Linked DNA regions of Homo sapiens: all the other regions are linked to region 3. The links are contacts of gene promoters, found by promoter capture Hi-C in human tissues and cell types (Jung and others, 2019). All regions are on one chromosome and are shown on one strand. Each heading gives the region's core, a stretch centred on a gene start or on the middle of the fragment in contact. The rest is flanking DNA. Distances are from core to core; before and after follow the strand shown.

Region 1 (3,458 bases), core at 959-3,458, 80 kb before region 3:
GCCAAAAAGGGAGGATCAGTTGAGCACAAGAGTTCAAGACCAGCCTGGGCAACATAGTGAGACTATGTCTCCATTTAAAAAAAAAAAAAAAAAGGTCGGGTGCGGTGGCTCACGCCTGTAATCCCAGCACTTTGGGAGGCCAAGGCAGGTGGATCACTTGAGGTCAGAAGTTCAAGACCAGCCTGGCAATACAAAAATTAGGCCGGGCACCGTGGCTTACACCTGTAATCCCAGCACTTTGGGAGGCCGAGGTGGGTGGATCACAAAGTCAAGAGATTGAGACCATCCTGGCTAACATGGTGAAAGGTGAAACCCCGTCTCTACTAAAAATACAAAAATTAGCTGGGCATGGTGGCATGTGCCTGCAGTCCTAGCTACTCAGGAGGCTGAAGCGGGAGAATTGCCTGAACCCGGGAGGTGGAGGTTGTAGTGAGCCGAGATCGTGCCACTGCACTCCAGCCTGGTGACAGAGCAAGACTCCGTCTCAAAAAAAAAAAAAAAAAGGACTGGTATCTCCCTACATTTATGTAGCACGTCATAATTCACAAATTGATCTAATCTCAAAACAACCCAGTGAAATATAATGGTGGAGCTTGCATTTTTAAATGATGAAATTAGCTGGACATGGTGGCACATGCCTGTAGTCCCAGCTACTCAGGAGGCTGAGGTGAGAGGATCACTTGAGCCCAGGTATTCAGTGCTGTAGTGCACTCTGATCATGCCTGAGAAGAGCTGCTGTACTCTAGCCTGGGCAACATAGTGAGACCCTGTCTCTAAAATAAAATAAATACATAAAATGATGAAACTAAAGCTCAAAAAGTTAGGCAAGTTGGCCAAGGACTCAGGACTAATAAAAGACAGGTGTAGGCTAAAGACTCAGATCATCAGATTTTTTATGCTGGTTCTCTTCTGAGTGAATTTTTAAGCTTTTTATTTATTTATTATTTATGTGTATCTTTTTAAAAAAGAGATGATGTACTTAATGATGAAGTCCTTATCATGTAACTTTAAGTAAATTACATGCCTTTCAAAATATGGTTAGGCATGGGACGCTTTTCATGGCTTAAAAAGATGGAACATGACCAGGTGCAGTGGCTCATGCCTGTAATCCCAACACTTTGGGAGGCCGAGGCAGGTGGATCACCTGAGGTCAGGAGTTTGAGACCAGCCTGGCCAACATGGTGAAACCCCGTCTCTACTAAAAATACAAAAATAGCCGGGCACGGTGGCGGGCATCTGTAGTCCCAGCTACTCAGGAGGCTGAGGCAGGAGAATCGCTTCAACCCGGGATGCAGAGGTTGCAGTGCGCCGAGATCGCGCCATTGCACTCCAGCCTGGGCAACAAGAGCAAAACTCCATCTCAAAAAAAAAAAAAAGATGAAACAAATTTTGGGGCCGTGAAGTTCTCTCTCCTACTTCTCTCTGTTCCTGTTTTATGTCCTCAATGTTTAGGAGGATGTCTCTTGAAAATCACTCTTAATTTTCATCAGAAATTATAGATAAAGATGACTTTTTCTGGGAGTGAAAATTTCACTCCTAGTTTCTCATGTGTAGAAGTGTTTTTTGTTTGTTTGTTAATTAACCCTTATGGAAAGTTATTTCTGTTTTAGAAACCTGAATGTAAATGGATTTTAGATAATAGTTGGGGCCCTTCATTGCCTTCTAAAACTCAGATTGATAAAGGATTCATATGTAGGCCTATGCGTGTAATGGTTAAATAAATGTGTCAACCATTGAGTACCAAAAAGAACTTAATATACTATTAATTTAAAAAGCCTTGCAAATACTTACATTGTGAGTATTTGAAATGTAGTTGGTCATGCAAGAACTGAGAGCTTAGTCAACACTTGAATTCAGAAGTGATCATTAAACGTACATAGTTAAGATAGTAATAGAATCACTATGGCCAAATAGTCATGATATTCAAGTGCAGAACTTACTCCCAACTGTAGGATTAAACTGGTTATCATGAAGAAATTAGAATCCGGCTGGGTGCGGTGGGTCACGCCTGTAATCCCAGTGCTTTGGGAGGATCACCTGAGGTCAGGAGTTCAAGACCAGCCTGGCCAACATGGTGAAACCCCATCTCTACTAAAAATACAAAAATTAGCTGGGTGTGGTGGCGGGTGCCTGGAATCTCAGCTACTCAGGAGTCTGAGGCAGCAGAGTTGCTTGAACTCAGGAGGCGGAGGTTACAGTGAGCCGAGATCGCACCACTGCACTCCAGCCTGGGCAACAGAGCGAGATTCCATCTCAAAAAAAAAAAAAAAGAAAAGAAAGAAAGAAAAAGAAAGGAATTAGTGGAATCCTTCTTTATTTGCTGTGGGGTTTTTTTTCTTTTTGTTTTTTGTTTTTTTGTAACTTTAAACATTGAGTTGCAAGCAGTATGTAGTAAAAAATTTTTCCCCAAGCATAAAAATGTAATCATTTCTTTGAAAAACTCTCAAGTTGGGTAAGCCTTTTAAAACAGGCTCTAAGAGTCTAATGGGTAAAGCAGGGTATGCCTTGCATTGCTCTAATTGCCAGAACTGGGGGAGTTTGTTCATCTGTGCCTCTGAAGCCTGATGCAGATTTGGGAGCCGGTTTGGTTGCTCCATTCTCTAGGCTTTTTAGTGTCAAAGAAGGGGCTCCAAAGCCAAAGGCGCGAGGCATGGATTTTGGAGTCAGAATTCATCCTGTCAGTGCCAGTGCAGGATTTCTGTTAGGAGTAAAAACTGGTTTGACAATAAAGCCCCCAAATTCTGAGGAGGTCCCGTGCTACTTCAGCTCATCCGGCTCACTGTGGGTTGCTAACTGTCTGACTGTCTCCGAGCTTGCGCTACTTACCAATGCTCATTTCACCCCTCTCTTTTCCCTTTCCTACTCTTGCTTCCTTTGCTATATCTGTGTGTCTTTAATGGTAAGACTAAAGAAAGTCTATCCACGTTATAATAAATAAATTTCATATATTTTTAGTAAACCAAATTGTTGTATATATTTTTTGGCTGCCTTTGTCCCTCTGTGTCTTGCTTTTGTTTTGTAAAATATTCTCAGCAGTATATATATATACATATATATATACACACACAAACACACACATATATTTCCTTTTTATATCTATATACAGCAAAGAACTTCAGTGCAAATTTAGTCTCCTTACTGTATTTGCGTTTCTCTTCATGGTTCTAATATTTGGTTCTTGTTATCTTGCATTTTTAAAGCTTGCCCAGTAACACTTTAAGGTATTTGCTTCATTACTGGAATTTGTTTCTTATATAAGTAGTAAGGAAAGAATCTGGGTAAAATGTTCCCTTGGGAGATGGAGAGAGAAAGATTTCTGTTCCCTCTATCCCTTCTTTCATGTTATGTTTATTTTCCCTTCTTGATTTTTTTTGGTAATACCAAGTCATTCCAGCTAATGGCTTAATACGATTTGTGACTCAGACGTCAGTAATGTTGGCATAGACAATGGTTTAATG
Region 2 (3,365 bases), core at 549-3,048, 120 kb before region 3:
CACGAAGTTCAACCTTGCCCACTGTTTAACCTTCTATTGCTCAAAGGAAAGTAAATATTCACCTTTCTTTATTTTTAATGTGTTTATAGGAGTTTAGTAGAAAGAAATGATAAAAGAGCATATATAGGACTTGAAACCAATCTCATGAAAAGCCTCTTGCTAACTAAGTGGACATGACATGGTATGTGTGTGCCGTGCATGTCATCTGGGAGGCCCATATTCTCCCTCTTCTACATGCTGATAGTTGAGGATTTCTCTTCTTTCTGTGAAATACCTCCAGTTTTATGAGCCATTTAACACTAGATACAATTCCCAGATCTTTTGTCTTTGTGGTTTCCTTTATCTGTGCAGACTTCAGTTTTTTTTTTGTATTTCCTTTAAAATGTTTCAGCCTGAGCAAACCACAGCATCGCAGAAGCTGATGTAAGGTCTCCTCGGTTGTTGTTTGTTTTTTTGAGACAAGGTCTCACTCTGTCACCCAGGCTGAGTGCAGCGGCACAGTCATGGCTCACTGCAGCCTCAACCTCTCGGGCTCAAGTGATCCCCTTGCCTCAGCTTCCCAAGTAGCTGAGACTAAAAGCACGTGCCACTACACCTGGCTAATTTTTTATTTTTTGTAGAGACAGAGTCTCGCTATGTTGCTCAGGCTGGTCTCGAACCCCTGGATGCAAGCGATCCACCTGCTTCAGCTTCCCAAGGTGCTGGGATTGCAGGCGTGATTCATCGTTCCTGGCCAGTCTCACAAGGCGCTGGGGTTGCAGGCGTGAGCCACCATTCCTGGCCAGTCTCACAAGGCGCTGGGGTTGCAGGCGTGAGCCACCATTCCTGGCCAGTCTCACAAGGTGCTGGGATTGCAGGCATGAGCCACCATTCCTGGCCAGTCTCACTGATTTTGTTGGTTGGTTTTGTGCAAGAGTCATTGAGTTAAAAATGCCAGGACTGTTCCCCTCCAAACGTGTCTAGTATCTAATTTCAGTGGATCGTAATCAGTCCCAGACTCTTTGGAATAATCTAATGAAATCTACAGATATTTTTTCAGGAAAGTTTACGTGTGCACTCAACAAGGTTCCTGGAACCCATGAAGCCTCCTATTCCCTACTTTTAAGAGCCAGTGGGCTATAGCTGTGCTGCCTAATGTAGTAGCCACCAGCCATGTGAGGCCATTCAAATGTAAATTTGTAGCCAGTTCTGGTGGCTCACGCCTGTAATCCTAGCACTTTGGGAGGCCAAGGTGGGCAGATTGCCTGAGCACAGGAGTTTGAGACCACCCTGGACAACATCGTGAGACCGTCTCTACTACAAATACAAAAAATTAATTGGGTGTGGTGGCACACACCTGTAGTCCCAGCTACTCAGGAGGCTGAGGCAGGAGAATCCTTTGAGCCTGGGAGGCGGAGGCTGCAGTGAGCTGAGATGGTGCCACTGCACTCTGGCCTGGGTGACAGAGTGAGACTGTCTCAAAAAATAAATAAAAATAAAAACCTTAATATGGGAATATATGCGGTCTACATTATTTTCTCTATTTTTGTATATGCTTAAAAGAGGATCGCTTGAAACTGGGAGGCAGAGGTTGCAGTGAGCCGAGATCGCGCCACTTCCCTCCAGCCTGGGCCACAGAGTGAGACTCTGCCTCCAAAATAAATAAATAAATAAATAAATTTAAATTTGTTACATTTTAATTAAAAATTTAGCTCCTCAGTTGCACTCACCACATTTCAGGTGCTCAGTAGTCATATGGTCACCATGATGGGAGTGCAAATAAGAACATTTATATCAGCTGGGCGTGGTGGCTCATGCCTGTAATCCCAGCACTTCGGGAGGCCTAGGTGGGTGGATCACTTGGGGTCAGGAGTTTGAGACCAGCCTGGCCAACATGGTGAAACCCCGTCTCTACTAAAAATACAAAAATTAGCCGGGCACGGTGGCGGAGCCTTGTAATCCCAGCTACTTGGGAGGCTGAGGCATGAGAATAGCTTGAACCCAGAGGCGGAGGTTGCAGTGAGCCAAGATCGCACCATTGCACTCCAGCCTGGGCAATAGATAGAGCGAGACTCAGTCTCAAAAAAAAAAAAAAAAAATTATATCATTGCAGAAAGTTCTGGATAGCACTGGTATAGACACTGTGGTCAAATTATCTTATAATTCAGTAAATAAAAAAAAAAAACTATTCCTTTTAGTCAGCAAAGCCTAGAAATTAGGCTGTAGTTTTTAAGTTATATGTGATATTGGGACTAAATCACTCTCAGCCCCTCAGCTACCCTTAAGTAAGGTCCTGTGGTGAGTTTGGAAGGCAGTAGTTTATTTTCCCTTGTTATGCCCCTTCCTTTTTTCATTAAAATATACTGAGTTTTTGTACTTCTTTTAATTGTATTTTTAAAAATTGTTCTATGAATCCTTTCTGCTTTCAAAGTAATTTGATAATTGGAATGGCAGGAAAGAATCTTATGCCCTGATATTAAAATCAAGCTACTATTTTTATCTTCTAGGTAGCTACTGGGAATAATTTCACAAGTTGTTTCAAAGATAAAATAAGCTAACAGATACAGAAGCACTTTGCAAAACTACACTTTTGACTTACCTTTTTATGGGCTCTGTTTAGTTTCTTTCCCTTGTTATTCAGATAGTTTCTATAAAGTTTATTGTAGAAATTGTAAAGTTTTTATCATTTAGGTTACATTAAGTTATTTGGGCTTGCATTTGTCTGCTTGATTTCATTTTTGTTTCCATTCTTTCCATCTTTTGTTTCTGTAGTCGCTAACTTATTTGTTAACATCAGCCAAAAAAGAAATTGAACTAATGTCAGAAGAGCTGAGGGGTCTGAAATCAGAGAAGCAGCTTCTTTCTCAGGAGGGAAATGATTTAAAGTTAGAAAACGGTTCACTTTTATCCAAGCTTGTAGAATTGGAGGCCAAAATAGCTTTACTTCAGGGAGACCAGCAGAAACTGTGGTCAGTGAATGAAACTCTTAATTTAGAAAAGGAGAAATTCTTAGAAGAAAAGCAAGATGCCGAAAAGTATTATGAGCAGGAACATCTCAATAAAGAAGCTTTGGCTGTTGAGAGAGAGAAATTGCTTAAAGAAATCAATGTTGTACAGGAAGAACTCTTGAAGATAAATGTGGAAAATGACTCTTTGCAAGCTTCCAAGGTGAGCATGCAGGCACTCATTGAAGAGCTCCAGCTCAGCAAAGATACTTTGATTGCTAAGACTGAGAAGGACCAGGAAGAAAAAGATCACCTGGAGGACCAGATCAAGAAACTTATTACCGAAAACTTCATCTTGGCCAAAGATAAGGATGACATCATTCAGAAGCTTCAAAGGTCTTATGAGGAGCTAGTCAAAGATCAGAAAGCTTTGGTACAGGA
Region 3 (3,603 bases), core at 659-3,158:
ACCTGAAAAGAAGGATGAGGAGACAGAATCCACCAGTGTGGCCTGCCCGAGCTCCACGTAGCAAAGCCTGTCTTCAGTTTCTCATTTTTGTCCCTCTGGTGTCTCCCTCTGCCCCAGTCCCCTCCCCTTGACCTCCACTGCCAAGTCATCCTGTCCCTTCACTTCTGACCAGTCTGCCGCATTGGCCACTGCCACAGCCGCCGTCACCAGAAAAGCAACTGCTAGGTGCTAGGGATGCAGTGGCAAGCAAGACAGGGTCGCTGCCCTCTCAGAGGGGAGCACAAAACGCATAGGAACCAGGTATGTTGAGAAGTTACAGTCTAATGCAGAGAATTGGCTGACGCGGAGGACGGATCCCATAGCCAAGGGTAGCTAAAAAGCCCTCCTTGATGGAGGGACGTTTGAGCAAGAACTGAGTGAGGAATGGCACCTTGCGTGAAGACCTGGGGTCTCTGCAGGCCGTGGGCAGAGTCAGGCAGCTCCAGGGCAGGAGAGAGGGGAGAAAGAAGGGAGACGGGGGCCCAGCAGGTTTACAGTAGGAAGAGGCCAGCCCGGCTAGTGAAAGAGCTAAGGGTTTTGTTGGTTTTTTTTGAGACAGTGTCTCTGTCACCCAGACTCTAGTGCAGTGGCACAATTATAGCTCACTGCAGCCTGGAACTCCTGGGTTCAAGCGATCCTCCGGCCTCGGCCTCCCCAGTAGCTGGGACTACAGGCGTGCAGGGCCCGGCTAATTTATTTTTTGTAGAGATGTGGTATCTTTTGTTGCCTGGGCTGGTCTGGAACTCCTGGCCTCAAGCGATCCTCCCGCCTTGGCCTCCCAAAGCGTTGGGACTACAGGCGTGAGCCACCGGCCAGAGTTTTCTGAGCCCCCTGGAGATCTATGCGGGGGTGGGGGACAAGGGGGTCTGGCAGAGGCGGTGAAAGAATCTGACCTTTGGTAAAAGGCCACTCCTACCGCCCCTTCCCTGGTGGGCTGCGGAAGGCTGGGGAGGAAGCATGAACGGCAGCTGGAGACTGTCTCCGTGCTCAGGATGCCGGGCGGCGGCGGCGGCGGGGTCGAAGCGAGATGAGTCTCAGGTGTGCGAGCACCGCGGGCTGTGGACGAGAGGCCCGGGCGGGCGGCGGTGCCATTCACCGAGAAGGGCGCACAGCAGGTGGCTTGGTTCCGTCCCAGGAGGTTTCAGCCCAGGCTGCGCCGCGGCCCGGGTGGCCCCTGTCCCGCCGCGGGCGTCCCCAGGCGCTGGCCGCACGGCCTCGCCCCGCCGCCCTCCGAGCCGCGGAGACCCCAGAGCCCGGCTCTCCACCCGCCGCGGAGCGCACGACCCCGTCTGGTGGGGCGCGGGTCCTGAGGCTGCGCTCGGCCTTGGGCGGCAGCCGCCTCGGATCCCCACAGGACTCGGTGACCCAAAACGCCCTGGCGCGGGCAGGGGGCGAACTCTGGTTCATTCTTTCAACGCGACAGTCTCCGAAGGGCTGACGGCAGCAGAGACCCACTCTGCGGGGACCCCCGGGCCGGGGTTGGCAGCAGCGCTGCGCGTCGGGCGCGGGCGGCCCAGGCTGGCGGGGTCTACCGCGCCCGGCTCCAGCCTCTGTCCCCAGCCTGGAGAACCGAAGCCGAGCGGCCCGTGGGCCCCGAGCCGTGCCCGCCGAGGCCAGACTCGCGCCGCACCCGGGCGGGGCCGGCGTCCTCGCGGGGACCCTGGGGGACCGGGGAGCGGGCCGCGGGGTGCAAAGGCACGGCCGCCCTGGCGACGCCCCTCCCTGCACGGTGACCCAGCCTCCCTCACAGCAGCGGCGTCCCGGCCCCCAACCTACCTGAGCGTGACGCCGGGGTACGGGCGTGGAGCTCGTGCAGCGGAGCCAGGGCGGATGGCGCCCAGGTGCGCGGAGCTCTCGGGGCTCGGGAGTGGGCGGGGCTTCTGGAGGAGGTGGGAATTTGGGGCGGGGTTCTGGCGGGGGCGGGTTTGGGGCCTCCCCGGACCCAGCCGCGGGTCTCCGCAGCGCCGGAGGCTGGACGCACGCGTCCCGCGCCCGGTCCTGGGGTCCGCACGAGCCGGGTCGGGCAGAGGCTGCTCCTCCTCCCCAGGACGCCGGCGCCACACCCGCCCCCCGACGCGTGCGGCGGGACAGAAGCGGAGGCGGGAGTGCTGGGAACAGCCTTTACTGCCCACGCCCTACACGGCGAACATGCGCAGAGCCTCCTCCGCCGAGCGGCACTGGTTCAGCTGGATCTGCACCTCTACGGTCAGGGGCTCAGGGTGGTAATCGCCTTCGTAGATCGGAATCACGGCTTTCGGCTTTTCTGAGAAAATTTAAGTGCGAGCATGAGCCCCGGGAGACGGATGGGCTGGCGTTCTCGGCCGCCCTGACCCATCCCATATGCAAGCCCTGGACCCTGTCCCAGCGGGAGCACAGTTTTGGTCCTCGGGTGTTAACAGTAATAAGAAATAAAATTAAATTGTATTTAATTAGATCATTTAATAAATCGCAGCTGTTTGAGTTGCAAGACTGGCTGCTTTTTGCTTTGAGACAGTGTCGTGCTCCGTCGCCCAGGCTGGAGTGCGGTGGCATGATCCCGGCTCACTGCAACCTCCGCCTCCCAGGTTCAAGCGATTCTCCTGCGTCAGCCTCCAAGTAGCTGGGATTACAGGCGCCTGTCACCACGACCGGCTATTTTTTGTAGTTTTAGTAGAGACGGGGTTTCACCATGTTGGCCAGCCTGGTCTCGAACTCCTGACCTCAAGTGATCCGCCTGCCTAGGCCTCCCAACGTGCTAGGATCACAGGCGTACACTACCGAGCCCAGCTGCAGATATTTTCTTAAAAATGAAGTAATTATAGCACTTCAGGGGAAACAACTGAAAGCATTTCAATAAATGTATAACATTTGCCCTAAAAATGAGACAACATTGTATCTGCCACCATGAATTTACCAATTTTCCAATACGCAAAGACCTTTCTAATGATGTGGGTGGTGATAGTAAAGAACGTGATCTTTGGAAAATGTATAGTGACAGGTGTCAACTGTTGGAATATCTGCATAAGTCTGTTAACCTGTAGTTTACAAGTAACTCATGCATGTTACAAACTGCATGGTAAAATATCCGTTCAAAATGCAAACTAGATTAATGAATTTTAATCTGATTATGAAAAATTCAATATAGATTGTTTTCACATTGTAACAACCTTTAAGAAATTACCACTTGTCAAATTTGGTGTAATATTAAAGAAATTATATTATTTTAAGGTCTATTAAAATACTCCCTCTTTTCCAATTATGGGCCTGAGGTTGGATTTTCTTTGTGCACGTCAATTACAGCAACATATTGCAAGCAGTTGACTGCAGAAGTAGCTGTAAGAATCCAGCTGTCTTCAATTAAGCCAAACATTAAAGAGATTAAAAAAAAAAAAACCTTTTTAAGGCCATCTTAACCCACAGATAAGTATCACAAATCACATGTTCATATAGGCATGGGTTTTGAAGTCCAGCAGCATATGCCCTCCAACGTTTACTTCTTCAGGCTGGCGTGAAATGGCGCGATCTCAGCTCACTGCCACCTCTGCCTTCCAGGTTCAAGCGACTCTCCTGCCTCAGTCTCCTGAG

What was found. Contacts are between HindIII fragments. The study calls those that stand out against the background at their distance.
Region 1: a fragment that was not itself captured here is called in contact with the fragment with the promoter of B3GNT4 in region 3 in 4 of the 25 tissues and cell types used here (IMR-90 fibroblasts, dorsolateral prefrontal cortex, lymphoblastoid cells and 1 more).
Region 2: a fragment that was not itself captured here is called in contact with the fragment with the promoter of B3GNT4 in region 3 in 11 of the 25 tissues and cell types used here (IMR-90 fibroblasts, aorta, dorsolateral prefrontal cortex and 8 more).

What each region holds. Positions count from the first base shown.
Region 1 is chr12:122,282,274-122,285,731 of GRCh38, reverse strand. All of the region lies in intron 21 of CLIP1 (CAP-Gly domain containing linker protein 1), which reads left to right. Among named protein-coding and RNA genes, the nearest start is that of VPS33A, 18 kb to the right of the region's middle. RefSeq lists a silencer at 3,123-3,323. The HindIII fragment of the contact is 5,409 bases long and covers 1-3,458 here.
Region 2 is chr12:122,323,768-122,327,132 of GRCh38, reverse strand. All of the region lies in intron 17 of CLIP1 (CAP-Gly domain containing linker protein 1), which reads left to right. It also overlaps the pseudogene CCDC150P1. Among named protein-coding and RNA genes, the nearest start is that of VPS33A, 59 kb to the right of the region's middle. The HindIII fragment of the contact is 8,257 bases long and covers 1-3,365 here.
Region 3 is chr12:122,202,014-122,205,616 of GRCh38, reverse strand. B3GNT4 (UDP-GlcNAc:betaGal beta-1,3-N-acetylglucosaminyltransferase 4) reads right to left here and starts at 1,908. Exons shown (of 3, transcript NM_030765.4): 1 at 1,816-1,908; 2 at 933-1,095. The coding sequence starts at 998. LRRC43 (leucine rich repeat containing 43) reads right to left here. Exons shown (of 12, transcript NM_001098519.2): 12 at 2,146-2,302. The coding sequence ends at 2,175. RefSeq lists a silencer at 1,594-2,223. The HindIII fragment of the contact is 16,495 bases long and covers 1-3,603 here.